2 separate regions of the Homo sapiens genome follow, and region 1 is linked to region 2. The links are contacts of gene promoters, found by promoter capture Hi-C in blood cells and fetal thymus (Javierre and others, 2016). All regions are on one chromosome and are shown on one strand. Each heading gives the region's core, a stretch centred on a gene start or on the middle of the fragment in contact. The rest is flanking DNA. Distances are from core to core; before and after follow the strand shown. Region 1 overlaps OSBPL9 (oxysterol binding protein like 9). Region 2 holds the start of FAF1 (Fas associated factor 1).

Region 1 (5,380 bases), core at 2,001-4,500, 770 kb after region 2:
AAGCGGTAGGTAAGGCTAAACCTTGTCAGCCATTGTTAAATATTGAATTGTATCCTAAGCACAACTCAGTGGAAAGCAGTTAAAGTTCTTTAATTGGGGGAGGCAATGAAGGGGTAATAAAATTGGTTATAGAAATACTGCTCTGGCTCTAGTGTTGAGAATGAATTGGAGTAGCCAGAGTAGATTCAAGAAGACTTTAGTAAGATTATTCCAACAGGCCAGGACCTGTTATAGGGTGGTGGCAATGGAGAGAGATGGACAGAATGGAGAGTGTATTTAGGAGGTAAAAATGACAGAACTTGGTGATGCACTGAATGTGAAATGGGGAAGGTGTCTAGGAGGACTACTAGGTTTATGGTTTGCGTATTAGGGTGGATGATAGCAGTTTCATTTACTGAGACAGGGAGCCCTGGCAGAGTACCCAGCTTTTAGAGTGGGTAGGGGGAAGGGGAGAGTGCATCTGGTGTTGGGCATTTTGAAGTGATTTACATACAACAAACTGAAGGTATCTTTAACACTGAGTCCAGCAGGTTAGCATATTTATTCAGCAAGCATTGCACCTTTTTTTGTTGTTTTTGGGGTCTTCAACTCCTGGCCTCGAATCCTCCCTCCTTCCCCCGCCTCTCCCAGCCTCCGCCTCCCAAAGTGCTGGGATTTCAGGAGTGAGCCACCGCGCCTGGCCAGCATCGCGCTGTTTGTGCAGTGTGCCCTGTGCTAGGTCTTGCAGTGGGTACCAGTAGAGACATAAAAGTACAAAAGATAATTGGACGTTTAGTAGAGTCCTGAAAGGGGGCGGGATAGGAAGATACCTAACCATAAGAAAAACCAGCAAGAGCGGAAAAGGAGCTAGTCCTCCAGATCAATAAGTTAATCACTTATGTTTGTGATTCCCTGCATTTTGGGTGATTCTCTGTCGAGGTCCTCTTAAGTCCAGACTTTTGATATAATCTGCAGTTTGCGCCATTTGGATTCCTGAAGCATCTTTACAAGCCACCTACATTCCTTATGGAGCTGTGGCACAACAGCAAGCCCACGATGTCTCACCGGATTAATAAAAATATAGGCGCTCACGCTTTTGTTTACCGATATAGTATCTCCTCCTCCCCTCACTCCATCAACCCCCACGCGACACAACTTTCCGGAAGTAAGCAAAATCCGTTATCAAGGTGAAACTCCGGGGACCAGGCTCCACAGCTGCCATAAACTGGATGGCACGTTAGAAGCCGGTGGGTGTAGGTGAGGCACGCTGGCGCCCGCGGGCCCTTCTCCAGCCGCTACCCAGTGGGAATCCGCGGGGCTGAAGCCCCGAAACCAGGCTGAGCGTCCCAGAGCGCAACCTCCCTTTCCCCCAGCAGCGCCGGCGCCGCAGAAGCCGCGTGTCCCCAGGCGCACTCCCCCAAGGTGAACCCCCGCCCCCCACGGAGGCGGCTGGGTCGCGGGTCTGGGCGGGGCGCTCCGGACGCCCTCCCGCCGCTGCGCACCCCTCCCGCGAGCTGCCAGCTCCCTCGGCCTCTCCACCCAAAACTGGCCCAACCGCCAATCGTCTGCCTCTCACCTCCTACAGCAGGTGACCCATGGCCAATCGCCAGGGGTCTCTTTGCCAGGAGCCGCCAGGGCCAGCCAATCGGGGCGACCCCTCCGCCGGGGAGGGGACGGGAAAGGGGTGGGGGGTGAAGGGGGTGAAGGGGGTGTCCCGGGGGACGGGCTGAACCTCAGTCAGGACCGCCTGCACCGCAGTCCGGGGATCGGGTCGAGGGGAGAAGAAAAAGGGGTGCTCGGGAGCAGCCCCCGGCTACCTCCCCTGGAGGCACAGAGGGCGGGGGCCTTGGCGAATGGCTTTCTTGCTGGCCACTTGCGGAGTGAGTAGACCCCGAGGGTCTGGGAGAGGGGCCGGCCCCTACCCCTGAGTCCCCGGGGTCCCGGCCGCCAGGCCGGAGCGCGAATGTCGTGCTCACCCTGCCTCCTTCCCGCCGCCCCCTGGGGTGAGTAGGACGACGTGGCTGCCCGGGCCCCTCTTCCTTGGGAGTTCTCAGTTCCTCAGCCTAGATGGGGTGGAGGCTGAGGTCAGGGCCTCCAGTTCCACCGAGAGGGCATTCGCCCCCAAATGAGACTTTGGAGGAGGTCTCTTTTTTTCTATTCATTTTTGTGGAACTCTGTTTTCCTTTTGAAAGCTGTCTCAGAATATGATTTTAAGCAGAAAAGTTAAGCTTTCTCTTATGTGAAAGCTTAATTTTGACCAGTTGCCCATTAATAGAATCTCCAGTTGCAGGCCAAGTGTTTTTTGGTGGTGGTTTATTTTTGGCACGGTGTTCGTGCCTGGCCCTGTATTTTTTGTGTATAAAGTAATTACGGATGCTATTGTTTTTGAGTATGTGTGTCGGGAAGGAGGTGATTTTACGCTTTTTGGGTAGCTTGTGCAAAAATACTGAAAACTTTGGTATAGTTTTATGGGGTTCTTAGCCCAGCCGAGTTATGGAAAGTTGAGTATAATTAATGGACTAGGAAGCATATTTGAGTAATGCACTTTTTGCTGACATTCATACTGTATTATAAGTATTTGTTATGAAAGGTTGAGAGATGTATTGAACAAGAAAACCAGTTTTGCTAATTTGAAGTAATACTTTGTTTTGCTTTTTGATTAAACTGTTTACTTTTAGCTGTATTAAGGAAGTTAAAATCAAGTAATTCCTAGTTTCTCAGTGGAGAAGCTGGAAGCATCTTAGAATAGTAGTTGTAGTTTTAAAAGTTTTTACAGTGAACTTTGAAACTGGAAATTCTCACGTAGTTAATTATGAATAATCTCTCTTGAACACTGCCTGTATTGAACTAAGTAGTTGATGAAACCCTTTAATGAATACTGTTAGCACCTGTCATTTATTTATACTTTAAATATATTGCTTTACTCCCCCCCACCTTTTTTTTTTTGTGCAGCCCGACAAGAGACAACCTAAATAAAAATACCGTATTACCTTTTCTAGTTCAGGGAAGGTGTATGATTAAAAGTCAGATTTGGGCCAGTCGTGGTGGCTCAGACTGCAATCCCAACACTTTGGGAGGCTGAGGCGGGAGAATTGTTTGAGTCCAGGAGCTGGAGACCAGCCTGGGCAACAAAGCCAGAACCTTCCCCCCGCCCCTGCCCCAATAAAAATTTAAAAATGAGCTGAGCGTGGTGGTGATGTGCACCTGTGTTCCCACCTGCTTGGGAAGCTGAGGCGGAAGGATCCCTTGAGCCCAGAAGTTTGAGGTTGCGGTGAGCTATGATTGCACCGCTGCACTCTAGCCTGGATGACAGAGAGCAAGACTCTGTCTCAAAGCAAAACAAAACAAAACAAAAAGGCGGGCGCAGTAGCTCACGCCTGTAATTACAGTGCTGCCTATAATCCCAGCACTTTGGGAGGCCGAGGCGGCCGGATCTCTTGAGGTCAGGGGTTCGAGACCAGACTGGCCAACATGGTGAAACCCCGTCTCTACTAAAAACACAAAAATTAGCCGGGCGTGGTGGCGGGCGCCTGTAGTCCCAGCTACTCGGGAGGCTGAGGCAGGAGAATCGCATAAACCCTGGAGGGGGAGCTTACAGTGAGCCGAGATCGTGCCACTGCACTCCAGCCTGGCGACAGAGCAAGAGTCTGTCTCAAAAAAAAAAAAAAAAAACTCTTAAAGAAAAAAACAGATTTGTAGTCTGATTTGAGAGCTTAAGTGAGAAACAAGAAAGACAACAGACAAGTTTCATCTGTTTACAAAGTGCCCTGAGTTTGGCTTTGACAGAGATGACGATGAATTTGGAAGTGCCCTTCAGTAAATACGAGGATGCAAAGGCTGTCTACTGGTCACGTTCATTTTGGTATTTCTAAAGTTCTATGATATTTTTAATGTGAAATTTTTCAAATGTTTTTTAATGTGAAAAGATTATTATATTTTGTACGCTCAGCCATCCCCACTTCAATCTCTGTTGATATTAAGATTAGTAGGGAATTTAACTGTAAGTTTGGTTCAGCCAGGAAAGAGCATTATTTTGTTAGCACCATGTTCTGCTGGTTGGAAAGTCAGGCACTCACATGGTTTGCACGCTGTTGATTAAGAAAGGGGACGATGACAAGAAAATCTGATAATCAGGCTTTTGTTCAGAGAAGCAAATTCTAGGATGTCCCCTGGGGTATGTTGAGTTCTATCTGTAGCTAAACTTTATACTGTAGAGCGAAAACAGATATTTATGATGATTCTTATATAGAAAAAAGACTTTGTGATTACTGTAGTATACTTAGAAAATTATATTTAGGAAGCTTTTCAGTAAAGGTTTAAACAAAGATTGTTAAGCTTGAAAGAATAGTTCTTATACTGACAATGTAATTAAGCCACGTATTCCTCCTTAAATATTTTAATGAAGTTCTACCACACACAGGCATTTAAAGCTACTTTCCATCTTCCTTATTTTCCATCTCCAGTCACCAGGTCCTGTTATGTTTGCCTTAGTAATATTTTTCAGATTCGTCACTTTTTTCTAGATGATAATGCTTTAATTCAGGCCATCATGGTCTCTCACCTAGACTTTTGCAAGGCTTTCTGACTAGTCTGTCACTGGACTCCCCTTACCCCATCCTTTTTATCCAAAAACAAATTTGGAATGGGTTGCCGCTCTTATAGTTAAGAATGTGTTTTGGCTCCTCCTTGCCAGAGTCCAGCTGCCCAGCATGTCCTGGAGGCCCTTCTTCATATTCTGGTCCTGATTTATCTCTGAGTCCAGACTCAGCTCCAGGTGCTTTACCCACGGCATCCACTGTGAACTGTTTCTCATTGAGAACATGCCATAGCCTCTCACAGTTATTTGTCTTTTCACAGCCTTTCCTTCTTGCTTAGATTACCCCACTGTATCTCAAGTGGTAAGCCTCCAGTTCTTCCTTAGCATACAGCTCCTGTGTTAACCTTTTCTATGATGCCTTCCTTCAGGCAGGGTGAGTTTGTTACTCTTGTGTGTGCTACTACAGCACTTTGCTCATATCTCCATATCACAGCCTTCACTAAGTTGTATTGTAAATTTTTAAACATATGTGATTCTTGCATTAAACCCTGATTTCCTAGAGATCTGGGGTTCTCACTCATCTTTGTATCCCCGGGGCCTTTGTCCCTAGTTTAGTGCATGGCACATAGTAGGTGTTCAGTAAGTGCTTAAGTGATCAAAATATGTGACGATAATAGCTTAAGTGTGTAAACCTTTGACTCAGTTTTACTGGAGTTAGGTTTTTCCCTGTGAGTTAAAAATGCTTCCTAGGTCACCAAGCTCCCTGGTTGCTACCAGACATGAGAAACGGGGGATTGGAAAAATGTTTAGAAACAGTGCTAAAAATGGTGAGCAGGGCCGGGTGCGGTGGCTCACGCTGTAATC
Region 2 (5,485 bases), core at 139-2,638:
AAAAATATCTCACTAAAATAATTCCTTCACCAAACATCAAAAGGCAAAGGTAGCACTCACAGGATATTAGTTCTAGCTCCAAGTCTTTCACAATGCATACAGTTCTACTTTCAAAGGGCCTTCCTAAGATACTTACATGTCAGTGGCACTACGACTGGGTTTATTAAGAGAACAGCCTTTACTTATCCTTTAAAGTATTCCTGGAGAAAGGACACCAACCAAGCAATTCAAGTCTGTAGGGGAGGGGAATCCGCAAATATGAATAGGTAATTTATTAAGCTTGTGAATTCATTGCAGAGATACTCTGGAATATATAGTCTTATCTGTCTCCTTGTTATCTTCTTACCCTCCAAAGATTCCAATTAGGCAAAGTCTCAAATGTTTACTCCTCTTTGAAAAGGACCTCAGTACCCCATTGTCATTGCCCTCGCCATCTCATCATTCTGCTTTTTTACTCTTCCCTTAATACAATATAAATACACCACGCCCATAACACCACACGCTCCACGCTCACACTCCATACATCTCTCCCCACAGAACCACCCAAAACATCCCATACTTAATGGTCCAACACCAATTAAAACAAAAACTCTACACGTCCCCCCATATAATACAGGAAACACTACACATTCCACACACATTGTAACCCAAGTCATTAATACCTCCAATCCCATTCAACCCGTACTTAACACATTCTACACACTCATGATAGCATATAAATTATACGCTTCTCCATAGCTCGCCACACACACACACACACGCCACGCACCGTATAAAAGCCTAAATGACACACCACTGCAGCGTTCAAACGCTGGGAAGAAGACTCCCTTGTGGCACCGGAAACCCACGAGGTTGGAAGTGGGAGGGGAAGAGGGCCAGATACTTCACCTGAAAATCCGCCAGGATCATCTCCCGGTCCATGTTGGACGCCATGGCGGCCGCCGAGTTCCGCGGCTCCGGGAGCGAAGCGCGCACCTGGGAGGCAGACGGCACCTCCTGCGACCGTCGCCGCCACCGCCGCCGCCGCCGCCGGGCGCCGAGGGGCTGGCGGGCGAGCCGGCGGGCGGGTCGGCGGGCCAGCGGGCGGGGCAGCGCGGGAAGCGCTAGGCGCTCATGCACTCGGTAACCTTCAGGCGCCCCGGCCGCCCGCCTGCAACCTGCGGAGCCCGCGTCGCAGCAGCCCGGACAGGAAGATTGGTCTGGATGTGGGTCCGGTCTTACAGTCGCGGGCCAGGATGAGGGCAGGTTGCGACAGCGCGCACCCGGATACCTTCAGCGGCGTTAAGCCCGGCGGGGGCGGGGAAACCGAGCGAGCGAGCGGGCGGGCGAACGCCGCGGCCGCCTCCGCCTCCTCCGCTTCCTCCCTGGCCGCCGCCTCCGCCCCTGGTTGGCCAGCGCCACGGCTGTCGCACATTTTGCCTGTCATCGAGGTCGCAAAGCGCCGCTTTGCGGCTCCACGTGACCACCCTCCTGTCAAGCGCTGAGCGCGCGACTACCCGGCCAGGATCTCTGCGCTGGCGGCAGAGACTGCAACCTGCAGCTGCGGAAGCTTCAAGTCTCGCAACAGGTTATTCCAGTTTGGATTTAAGCAAAGGCCTCAGGATAGCGCCTCCCCCTAGCTGAGGCGGGGACCAGATTGTGCACCTCACGTGGTTAGTCACACAAATACACACCACCCTCACAAACCAACTAAACACACTGTTACAACTCGTCTAACAAACAGCATTTCAGAAATATATGTTTTTCTCTACAATGTTTCAGCAAAATACAGCTTCATATAGTCTCTCACGCTCAACCTGTCAAAACCGAATCCACACTGTCACACCCAGTCCCAAGCTCCCTGACGTCTGCATCCTCAGACTCCGTAACACAGAAGTAACCAGACTGCCATGGTAGACATGGGAGAGACGAGGAAGCTGAGAAAGGTAAAAATCTCGTTCCAGAGAAGAGGAGGAGCATTTTTTTTAATTGATAAGGTAGTTATGAGAAATAACAACCTCGAGTTAATAGGGTTGCTCCAAAGGGGGAAAAAAGGGAAAACCTTTCTACTGCTGCAGTTATATTTGTTTTTTTAAGCTGAGACATCTTACAAATGGGATAAAACTTGAATCCAGCTTTGAATATAGTCAGTCTATTTTTATTTATTTATTTATTTATTTATTTATTTATTATTTTGAGACGGAGTCTCGCACTGTGGCCCGGGCTGGAGTGCAGTGGCGCGATCTCGGCTCGCTGCGACCTCCGCTTTCTGGGTTCAAGCGATTCTCCTGCCTCAGCCTCCATAGTAGCTGGGATTACAGGCTCCCGCCACCAAGCCCGGCTAAGTTTTTTTTGTATTTTTAGTAGAGACGGGGTTTCACTATGTTGGGCAAGCTGATCTCGAACTCCTGTCCTCGTGATCCGCCCTCCTCGGCCTCCCAAAGTGTTGGGATTACAGGCGTGAGCCACTGCACCCGGCCTATTCATTTTCATAAGAAATTATTTTGGAATATTCACCAAATATTGAAAGTTTCAACCCATGGTCAGAAATTGACAACCTCTGTAACTAAAACAGCCAAAGACTATGTACAATGAAGTGTGACAGTTTGTAATTGTCGTCCAGGTTAGAGAAAGTGTGACAGTGGAAGTTGTTCATCCTTGACTTGGGAAAATATCAGCTTCTGGATTGTCATGGGGCATTTACTTGCTTTGGAAAGTATGTAAAAGCTTGAAAATGTGAAGTAAGATTGCTGATTTTATCCTGTAGAGCTAAAATAACTAGTGAAATCATCATGTAGCATGAAGGCCTAGGCTTCCCTTAAGAACTTTTTAAACTTGTATCATTTATTTACTTTTTTAGAGACAGGGCCTCACTATGTTGCCCAGGCTGGCTTCCAACTCCTGTGCTCAAGCCATCCTCCCACCTCAGCCTCCTGAGAGTGGGGATTACAGGTGTGAGCCATACCACCACACCCAGCAAGGCCTAGGCTCCATAAACTGGGAATATATTCATGAGAAATCAGAAATATGACCTAATTGTTCAGTTTCACTGAATATAAAGAAGTGCACTGTATTATGATCTGAGTTTATTCTGTGTGTTTCCTTAAATGAAAATAGGCTGGCCTACAGTTCTTAAGTACTAATCTGTGTTTAGACCAGAATTAGCTAGATAATAGAACCCTCCACAGTCACATGAATCAAAATGTCTTGCTTAATTTTCAGCCGTAAGAAAATAATTCCATGGCCAGGGCAGTGGCTTATGCCTATAATCCCAACACTTTGGGAGGCCGAGGCAGGCAGATCACTTGAGGTCAGGAGTTCAAGACCAGCCTGGCCAACATAGTGAAATCCCATCTCTGCTAAAAATAATACAAAAATTAGCTGGGCATGGTGGCATATGCCTGTAGTCCCAGCTACTAGGGAGGCTGAGGGAGGAGAATCACCTGAACCTGGGAGGTGGAGGTTGCAGTGTGAACCAAGATCACACTACTGCACCCCAGCCTGGGTGACAGAGTAAAACTGTTTCAAAATAAATAAATAAATATTTTTTTAAAAAGAAAGTAATTCCAAAAGTCAGCACAAATGTGAATCATGAGGCAAAACACAGCACCAATAATATAAATGTGGCAATTCAGTTGCCCCATTCATATAGGCCACCCTCAGTATAAGGCAGGTGAATAATTGTTTCTAGTTATATGGCCAAGGATTAATGCAGTCCTAAAAAGTTGAGAGTTTTTCTCTGTAATGATGCGTGTGTACCTCAGAACCCATTCAAATCCCATGTTGCTCCCTTTTTCTTTCCTTTCTCTCCATCTGGAAATTAAAACAATGTGGTATGTAGAACAATGGGATGAACACACTAGACATTCAGGCATATATTAGTACTGCTTTTCCAAATAATTAGCTGAGGGAACTTGGATGAGTCATTTAATCTCTCTGACTTCAGCTACTCACAGGACTATTTCCTCTGATAAATGAAAAAACAATTATGAAAATGCATGGAAAATATAAAATATTGGTATCACACTAACATAAATTTAATAGTCAATAATTGTGGTTTGAGTTCTAACTCTGCTCTTTAACAAAGGCTCTCTGGTTCTATTTCTTTATCTCTAAAATTGGGCTAAAAAGCTTGTGATTTTGAATGTTGAATGATCAAATGCTTGTGAAAATTCCTCATAAACCTTAAAACTCTCCAAACATATTAGTTATTACTCTGTATACCAATTCCTAAATGCTTTTCTCAGGACCACCCCTTTCATAAAATTTAAGCCAGTAAGGATCTTTCTCCTTTCTAATTACTGCTTTTACTATCTTTACAACACAACTTAGTGCTCCAGTAAATTTTGTAATTTTTTTCTCTAATTGTTTTCATATATGTATGTTTAATCTCCCCCCAAAGGTTGAAAGTTTCTTGAGATTATAAACCGCTTTATGCCATGTGTTTTTATATTCACCATAGTGCAAACATAGCAAAGTCTTGTGAACATAACAGATGGCAAATGCTTTTGAATTTATTAATTTTTATTGGGAGTCTACTATGTACAGATACATTACAAACTTTATCTCATTTAATATTTACAACTACTACTTTACAGAATATAAAGCTGCTCTGGCAAGTTAAGAATTTGCTCAAAGTCATGCTACAGAGTGACAGACCTAGGATTCAAGACTAGGTCAAATTAGTGCTCCTTCCACTTACCATGTTGCCTCTGTACAATTTCCCTTCCATGCTGCTTAGTTTATACCATTCCCAAAGACACTGTTTCTTCCCTATGGCCTAACTCTTCATGGTTGGATACCTAGCATCCAGAGTGGTTATCTACTACAGATAAGAGAAGGGAAGAAAAATAAATACTGAATTAGGAGAAAAAAAATCATTTTTCATTTCTCCAGAATTCCATCCTTAAGAGAAACAATTTCAGTTAAGTGTCATAAACCAAAAGAAGGAAATGTAAAGAAATTTGGTCCATGCACGAGCAAAGAAAAGTAATTTTAATTTATCTATTCTCATAGTTGGCCCACAGTAGTTCATGGAGCTCAGCCTAAGTTAAATACAGATCTTTTTCTAGAATCTCCATGTTCTTTTAAAAGAAACTTTTATATCATCTTTATTTCCAATATAAATAATAAATATTATTTATATTTTACTAAATTTTTATTTGAAATTATTTTAGAATACTTCCAAAGACAGTACAGAATGTTCCTATATGCTTTTAGCCCATTTTTCTCTAATGTTACCATCTTATTTAACATGGTACATCTATCAAAACTAGGAAATTAACACTGCTAAATACTACTAGTTAAATTCTGGAGGCTCTATTTGGATTTTTACACTAATGTCCTTTTCTTGTTCCATGGTCCAATAATACCACATTACATTTAGTTGTCATGTCTCAGTAGCCTCTTCCAATCTGTGACAGTTTCTCAGTGGACACTTCTGAAGAGTCAGGAACTTTATAAAATCTCCCTCAATCTGGGATTACCTAATGTATTCTCAGAATTA

Evidence for each region. Contacts are between HindIII fragments. The CHiCAGO score rates a contact against its expected background, and 5 or more counts as called.
Region 1: a contact is called between a fragment that was not itself captured here and the fragment with the promoter of FAF1 in region 2, in 5 of 17 cell types (fetal thymus, activated CD4 T cells, non-activated CD4 T cells and 2 more). The highest score is 9.0, in fetal thymus.

Annotation. Positions count from the first base shown.
Region 1 is chr1:51,728,143-51,733,522 of GRCh38, forward strand. The region is part of intron 4 of OSBPL9 (oxysterol binding protein like 9); the gene reads left to right. Among named protein-coding and RNA genes, the nearest start is that of MIR761, 110 kb to the right of the region's middle. RefSeq lists silencers at 1,294-1,713, 1,924-1,973, 3,179-3,228 and an enhancer at 1,438-1,958. The HindIII fragment of the contact is 2,055 bases long and covers 2,224-4,278 here.
Region 2 is chr1:50,958,879-50,964,363 of GRCh38, forward strand. FAF1 (Fas associated factor 1) reads right to left here and starts at 1,389. Exons shown (of 19, transcript NM_007051.3): 1 at 889-1,389. The coding sequence starts at 933. It also overlaps a transcript of CDKN2C not described here. RefSeq lists an enhancer at 676-725 and silencers at 1,036-1,085, 1,196-1,355. The HindIII fragment of the contact is 1,270 bases long and covers 278-1,547 here.